3 separate regions of the Homo sapiens genome follow, and all the other regions are linked to region 1. Evidence: promoter capture Hi-C in human tissues and cell types (Jung and others, 2019). All regions are on one chromosome and are shown on one strand. The core of a region is centred on a gene start or on the middle of the fragment in contact, and the rest is flanking DNA. Distances in the headings are between cores, read along the strand shown.

The links. The method cuts DNA at HindIII sites, captures the fragments that hold promoters and counts their contacts. A contact is called where the count stands out against the background at its distance.
Region 2: a contact is called between a fragment that was not itself captured here and the fragment with the promoter of OXCT1 in region 1, in 1 of the 25 tissues and cell types used here (lymphoblastoid cells).
Region 3: a contact is called between a fragment that was not itself captured here and the fragment with the promoter of OXCT1 in region 1, in 1 of the 25 tissues and cell types used here (mesenchymal stem cells).

What each region holds. Positions count from the first base shown.
Region 1 is chr5:41,869,170-41,871,677 of GRCh38, forward strand. OXCT1 (3-oxoacid CoA-transferase 1) reads right to left here and starts at 1,256. Exons shown (of 17, transcript NM_000436.4): 1 at 1,112-1,256. The coding sequence starts at 1,189. It overlaps OXCT1-AS1 (OXCT1 antisense RNA 1), which reads left to right and starts at 861. Exons shown (of 3, transcript NR_046635.1): 1 at 861-1,023; 2 at 1,122-1,213; 3 at 1,597-2,508. LOC102723752 (a long non-coding RNA gene) reads left to right here. Exons shown (of 3, transcript XR_925956.4): 1 at 1-433. RefSeq lists enhancers at 893-972, 1,803-1,852. The HindIII fragment of the contact is 6,323 bases long and covers 1-2,508 here.
Region 2 is chr5:43,026,944-43,029,451 of GRCh38, forward strand. All of the region lies in intron 2 of ANXA2R-OT1 (ANXA2R overlapping transcript 1), which reads right to left. It overlaps LOC105374748 (a long non-coding RNA gene), which reads left to right. Exons shown (of 3, transcript NR_188279.1): 3 at 1-753. Among named protein-coding and RNA genes, the nearest start is that of ANXA2R, 12 kb to the right of the region's middle. The HindIII fragment of the contact is 3,202 bases long and covers 1-2,508 here.
Region 3 is chr5:42,998,854-43,001,361 of GRCh38, forward strand. It overlaps LOC105374746 (a long non-coding RNA gene), which reads left to right. Exons shown (of 3, transcript XR_007058755.1): 3 at 1,280-2,154. Among named protein-coding and RNA genes, the nearest start is that of FLJ32255, 6.8 kb to the left of the region's middle. RefSeq lists enhancers at 1,096-1,597, 1,598-2,097. The HindIII fragment of the contact is 7,656 bases long and covers 1-2,508 here.

The DNA.
Region 1 (2,508 bases), core at 6-2,505:
TGAACCATTCCCTAGCACCTACCGAAGGAGCTCAGTGGCTCCTCTGTGTTCTCAGCGGTCAGGGATTGGATGCAGGAAAGAGCAATGGGGCCAGGCAGGCACGCTTCAGGAGTAAGCACCGTGTGCATGGCACGCTGTCAAGCTCAGACCTATTACTGAATACCAAGGAAGAGGCTCCCGCGATTGAGACGGCGGGGATAAAGCCACCCTCCTGGACCTGGCGCTCTGGTCCTGTAATTCGCTCCTAGGGCTCCAGACAGGGGTGGGCTTACAAGCGAGGACAGTGCATAAGGCAAAACCACAAGTCAGTCCACGGTGGGAATGCCTCCGGATACCACTCGGTGGAGAGTCGGCAGTGGGGCACAAAAAGGATTTCAAAGGGCTCTGAAAACCGAAAGCCCCTAACCCGGATACGAGGGGCCTCGAGAGAAAGGTTTGTCCTCCCCTGCAGCCCAGGCGCGGGCCAGGGACACACCTCGGATGGTTTCCCAGCTTGGCCGGCAAGACGCCCTGGCGAGCGCTCCAGTCTACGGGGCAGCAGAGCCAAATAGGGAGGAGAGGATGGGAGCGGCATTCCACACCCGCCGCACCCGGCATCCAGCCCCGGTGAACTCGAGCAGAGCCATGGCTAACCCAGCCTCAGGTTCTGGGCCTCTAGAGGTTCCTCTGCCCAGAGATCCAACATCGGGGGCGCAAACCTACCCGCTGTTGCCTCACTCCTAAACCTCCATATACTGGCGCCCTCCTCCCCCCGTTCAGACCCTCAGAGTCCCTATCCAAGGGCGGGTGCCAGGAGGGAAGCCGACGAGCGCCAAAGGGCTCGGGAGCGCTGCCAGGAGTCCTCCCGCCCCTTCTCAGCCTCTCCGCGCGCTTCTTTATCGCGTCTCGCTCCATCAGGGAAGCGACTGCAGAACCAAGCAAAGGCGGTCATCCGAGGGGCCGGCGAGGCCAGGAACGCGTCGCCGCGTGTCCGTGACCAGGGCACCGCGCCACGGATGCCAGATCCCAGGCTGGAGAGAGCGGGTAGGGGCAGAGAAGAAAACGCGGGCACCACTCAGGGTTTGGTCCACGTTCTTCCTGCCCATGGCCTTCCTCTTCCCCCGCACTTTACCTTGTACCAGGTTGCCCCAGATCCGCGGGCAGAGGCGCAGAGCCGAAGCCCGGAGGAGAGGAGTTTGAGAGCCGCCATCTTCGGGCGGTGAGGCAGGAGGAGGCTGCGGGTTGGAGCGCGCGTTTGAGCGTCGGTGCGCGACTGCGAAGGAAACCCGGGCGGGCTGGAGGCTCGACAGCGCGTCGATGACGTCCTCCCGGCCTTTCGAGCCGCACGCCACCGGCGCGCTGCTGGCTGCTGCTTTTAAAAGAAGTGAGGCTGGGCGGGGCCCCGGCGGGGAGAAGAGGCTCTGTGCAGCCGGGGCGGATCGCGGGGAAGTTCCTCTCAGCGCCTCAGGTGTCTGGGCGTGTGCAGCTGTGTTGGCGCACACTTGCCGCTACAGCCCTTCTGTCAGCCCTTTAGCTTCGATGGGGCGCTGGTGGCCGCCTCCCCCTAGGTTGTGGATGAGTCTTGGCCTAGGGTTCAGGGCCCTCCGGCCGCGGGAGGATCTCCCGCCAAGCTTGTTGCTTTTCCAAGTTAGTGCCTGGCGTGTGTGTGGGCTGCATAGGGGCACCCCTCGAGGCCCCCTTCTCTTCTCCCGCCTGGACTGCGTTCACGTTTCTAACATTTCTCAGCCCCTTCTCCCCACATCTGGCCTTGGCTTACATAGAGTAAGTTTGCTGTGAGCACTTGCCTCGAACTGTCGGTCAAGAGGTGTGAGCAACAAGGCTTGCAGAGGAACAAGATTAAGACTGGACCTCTGTGACCTGAGTTTAGCACACCTTTTCTTCCCCATCATCCAAGTTTGCGAATTTCGGGCTCTTTCTCGCACTGGAGTCCCAGCAACCCCAGAGATTACTAAAGATGCAACCATAAAAGCAGTATATTGCTTTAACCTTAGGCAAGTTAGATAACTTCCCTAAGCCTCAGTGTCCTCATCTGCAAATTAGGATTGCTTGTGATACAACGTCATAACGTTTCTATGAGTTAATTCATGCAAAGTTTATGGCCTTATTATGAGGAGTCAATAAATGTTAGGCATTATTATAAGTTTATTCCATTGTAGCAGTTCATTGACATGGCACGTACATATTCGCCAAGCCTTGTCTTTTGACCAACTCCTTGAGGACATGAGCCACGACTGATTTCTCCAGAACTGTCTTTGCACTTAGCAGAGTGGAAAGACCAAGTGGAAGCTCAATAGCATTTTATTTGATTAAGGCCTGACCAAGTTCTGAGAATGTGATGTTAGTTTTGAACCAAAGCAAAGCACACAAAAATTAAATGAGATCTTAGCTTCCTTAGCAAATACAGTAAGGTAATGAACAGTGAAGATGCAGTTCAAAGTTTGTCCATAAAATCATTTGCCCTTTCATGGTATTCTTTTAACTCTGAACTTTTTTTTTTCCTGTAAATAT
Region 2 (2,508 bases), core at 5-2,504, 1.2 Mb after region 1:
TACTTCCACTTCGATATGAGTAATGCAATGAACAACACCAAAAAACAAACAAACCAACCTAGGCTGGGTGCAGTGGCTCGCACTTGTACTCCTAGCACTTTGGGAGGCCAAGGCAGGCGGATCACTTGAGGCAAGGAGTTCAAGACCATCCTGGCGAACATGGTGAAATGCCATCTCTACTAAAAATATAAGAAAATTTGCTGGGCGTGGTGGCCCACACCTGTAATCTCAAGTTACTCAGTAGGCTGAGGCGAGAGAATCATTTGAACCCGGGAGGCAGAGCTTGCAGTGAGCTGAGAACACACCACTGTACTCCAGCCTGGGCAACAGAGCAAGACCCTGTCTCAAAAAAAAAAAAAAAAAGGTGGAGTTACCATCATGAGAGAATATAAAGTACAAAGATTCTAAGACTAGAAAACTTTATTATGGGCCGGGCATAGTGGCTCATGCCTGTAATCCCAGCACTATGGGAGGCTGAGGCAGGAGGATCACTTGAGGCCAAAAACTCAAAACTAGCCCAGGCAACATAGTAAAATACCATCTCTAGTAAAAAAAAAAAAAAAAAAAAAATTAGCTGGATGTGTTGGTGTCTGCTTGTAGTCCCAGCCACACAGGAGGCTGAGGCAACATAATTGTTTGAGCCCAGGAGTTCAAGGCTGAAGTGAGCTGTGATGATACCACTGCATTCTAGCCTGAGCTACAGAGTGAAACCTTGCCTCCAAAATAAAAATAAACGTTTGTTACAGCCATGGACAAAGAGAAAGCAATTAATGGCTTTCAGTGAACTAAATGGGAGGTATCTAGACTAAAAAAATCTTGTAGTCTTCTGCCCAAGATGGCCTGCTGGCCTCTAGGCAAAAATGATACATGATTAGATAAAGGTGGAAGTTTTGATTTAGTTTTGATTGAATTGTTAAACTACTGATGATACAGTGCCCACGTATATGATATTGACTCCATAAATTATCAGGTTGGCCAAAGATGTAGCAAAGGCATTTGTAAGAAAGCTGTAACTGATAACGCTTGATGGTATATTTCTACATTTTCTTCCTAAGTTTATCAGATTAGTTGACCCCTATATCAGCTGAGTTCTTTATTCTCTAAGTTATGACACGCTAATTCTTGGAGGATGTAACATAATATAAATAACATGTAAAAGCAAAATACTATACGCAGTCATTTAACCCATTTCCCATTTGTCCTGAGAATACTTGCAAGTGGGGCTTGCAGCTGCAGCATTTACCCTCAGATCACTTGCAGATTTCTTTTTTTTCAGATAATATTATAATTGCAGTATGTGTAAATCAACATTCCCTGAGAAAGTATCACCTGCCTTAACAGTTTTTGTCTGGGGAAGTTGAAAAGAAATAGTACATTCCTTTGCACATGTTGGAGGGAGAAGTATGTCTGCATAAGAGTCTGGACAGCAGGTCTCTGCCTGTGTGACATGGGTCTCCTTTGGGAATGGTCACTACTCTGTGTGTTATACCCATGCAGAGCACTGCCAACTCTCTACAATGCAAGGTTCCATCCACTGTTCACATCTGGAGAGACACATCCAGGCTACATACTCAAAGAAATGCTAAAGAGGCCGGCCGCGGTGGCTCACGCCTGTAATCCCAGCACTTTGGGAGGCCGAGGCAGGCGGATCACGAGGTCAGGAGATCGAGACCATCCTGGCTAACACGGTGAAACCCCGTCTCTACTAAAAATACAGAAAATTAGCCGGGTGTAGTGGCGGGTGCCTGTAGTCCCAGCTACTTGGGAGGCTAAGGCAGGAGAATGGCATGAACCCGGGAGGCGGAGCTTGCAGTGAGCCACGATCGCGCCACTGCACTCCAGCCTGGGCAACAGAGGGAGACTCCGTCTCAAAAAAAAAAAAAAAAAAATGCTAAAGCTAGTTTTCTGGGATCACCACTGGTACTTCTCGAGTAATACTGGCATGTAGGAGTTGCTCCTGCTCTCAGGATTCATTCTCCAGACACCTAGAGTCCATAAACCTTTCACCTAACAAGAGCTTTCAATCTTCTGCCTTCTGTATCTATTCTGTCATTCTCATTCTGTTTCATTTTTTTCACTTCCTGTTGTATAGTTGCATATTTTCCTTTTTTCTAGTAAAAAGAAGCATGGCTTTGAAGGGAAGCTTCAATTCAGACCTTTTCTTTCTGGTCTTCAAATCAGCTCCTGGAATAAACACAGAGTTAGCTGTGTTCTGAATGATCTCCTGACAGAGTCTTTATTCTCTCATTAGTAAGAGTTGTGAAAACTGCAGCCAACTCCTCATCTTTGTATTTGTGGCTCCCTTTATAGCCCCTGGAACACAGAAGGATATCAAAACATGCTTGCTAAATGTTGGGATCAATCAGATTTTACCATAGTAAACAATAATGTTTAATTAGGTAATTCTATAATTGTATCCATTGATGCTTTCCAAATAGCATGTTTAACTCAGACAAATTCCAGTTTCACAGAGGATATGAGAAGGAAAAAAAATCCACAGCAAGAATA
Region 3 (2,508 bases), core at 7-2,506, 1.1 Mb after region 1:
CGAAAAAAAAAAACCCCAAAAACTGAAGGTGGAATTACCATCATGAGAGAAGAATCTAAGACTAGAACAACTTTATTATGGGCTAGGCATGGTGGCTAACATCTGTAATCCAAGCACTTTGAGAGGCTGAGGGAGGAGGATCACTTAAGGCCAGAAGTCCAAGACCAAACCAGATAACACAGTGAAACACAATTTCTACCAAAAAAAAAAAAAATTATTAGCTGGATGTGGTGATTCCTGCCTGCAGTCCCAGCTGTCTGTAGTCCCAGCCACTCAGGAGGCTGAGGCAACCACCAAGCTAGCAGCATGGTGAAAACCCATCTTTACAAAAAATACAAGAAAAATTAGCCAGGTATGGTGGCACATACTTGTATTCCCAGCTACTCTGTAGGCTGAGGGGGGAGGATCACCAGCTACTCTGGAGGCTGACGGAGAGGATCCCTTGAGCCTGGGAGGTCCAGGTTGCCAAGAGCATGACACTGCATTCCCACCTGAGCTGCAGCAAAAACCCTGTCTCAAAAAAAAAAAAAAAAAAAAAGACAATGAATAGGCAAAGCATCCCAAACAATAAATAAATAAATAAATAATGAAGCCCAAAGCATCACATTATCCAGCTTCAAGCTATTCTATAAGGATGCCATTATCCTAAACAAATTCATGCAGAAACAAATATTACATGTCCTCACTTAGAAGTGGGAGTTCAGCCTGGTATACAGGGACATAAAGATGAGAACAATAGACCACTGAGGACTCCGAAAGGAGGGAGGGAGGGACATAAGGGGGTAGAGGCTGAAAAACTTCCTCCTGGGGATTTAGTTCACTCTCTGGGTGATGAGATCAAGCCTCAGAATCACGCAATATATTCTCATAACAAACCTACACATGTACCTCCTGAATCTAAAATTAAAATGTAACATGAGTCAACGTAACACAGAATAATACAATAATAAAATATCTCCCCAAAAAATGATCCTCTAATTTTAAAAATGGGCAACTACCCTGGCCTGCTCCTCAGTAACATAGCGATCTTTAGGCATCTGACAAGCACTACTCTGAGGCAGAAAGGGATCCTGTCTGCTCTAGTACTAGCAATGCATTTGGGGACAATAATGAACTTTCTAACCAGGGTGCCCCAAGACGGCTTTCTCTGTACAAGAAAGGTGATATTTTTTCTTTTCAATTCCTAAAGCAAATTGTTTAACTAGATAACTTCATCTCAAATGATAGGACTTTATGTTAATCTCATTAATTCCATGTCCTGATGTAACTTGCTCCTAAGAATAAGGTTCACACCCACCTCCCTGCAATCTGATTTGGACGGCCCATGAGACCAGAAGATTACAAAAACGCAAAAGATGTTGACTTATGAGTCCTAGATACCCTGTATCCGCTGGTGAAAGGACGCGATGGAGTTGCCGTGTCCCCTCCGAGTTTGGCAGGCCCGGGATTCCGCAAAGGAGGCGGCGGGACCAGATGCCTCCAGCCCGGAGCTCAGTACATTCGGTGTCCTGGATGCTCCCTTCCTGTGCTTACCACTGCGAGCTCTCCTGGGCCGACCTAGATTTCCACTGCCACATACTTTCCGCTCCCTGCGTGCTTCCTTGCTGAAACTGCCGGCGAAAAGATCTCTTTCCCAAGCCTCAGAGTACCTGGAGGCGGGGCGCAGAGTCGCCTGCTCTGGATCCGGCGCAGGCAATTCAGGAGGAGCCGCAGGAGCCCTCGGGAGAGCAGGAGGCTGCATAGGGTCTCAACATACGCCCGCCCGCCCCCGCAGCCTCCCTCGCAACTCGCCTCTCGCTTAGTGGACAGACGACTGGAGCCGGAGACTTCCATCCGAGAAGACCTTTGAGAGTGTCAGCCTACTGCTGTCCCCTGGTGCCACCAACCAAAGTTCCAAGACTGCTGGCTGCAGATGGCATGCGCTTGGGGACAGACGCCCTGAGACTGTGTCCACGGCCCGCCTTTGGAATCCTGGGCCCTGAAACTTCCTCTGAGACCTTCCATTGGATGATCCTCTTGTAAATAAATAAATAAATAAATAAAGTTACAATAATACCTGAGTTCTCTCAAATGCGATGGAAGAAGTTTCGCCTTCAGATCACTTTATGCCTTTTTTCCTTCCTCTTCTCAATAAAATTGTACACAAATGTGAAATTCCTGTTACCTGAGTTCCTGCTGATGACGTTGAGTAAGGATGAGGCTCAGGGGTGGGGTGTCTGGTTGCTGTTGCCAGGACTGGCAGGGAAACCTGGGTCGCCTGGATTTGCTGGTTGCAGAGCAAAATCAAATACAAAAAGTGGTGTGTCTTATGCAGAGATTGGAGGGGAGGACCGGCCCGGGGTCATGCAGGGTGGGGGACTCACAGGCTAAGCCTACAGGAAATCAAGTGAACAGGCAGAGGACCTGAGAACTTACTGCAGGAAATTCTCCTGTTCTAAGGCCCTGGAACTTTTTCCCTCTGAAGCTTTGCACCCTCCTATCTTGAGACCTTGCTAAACTCACTCATGA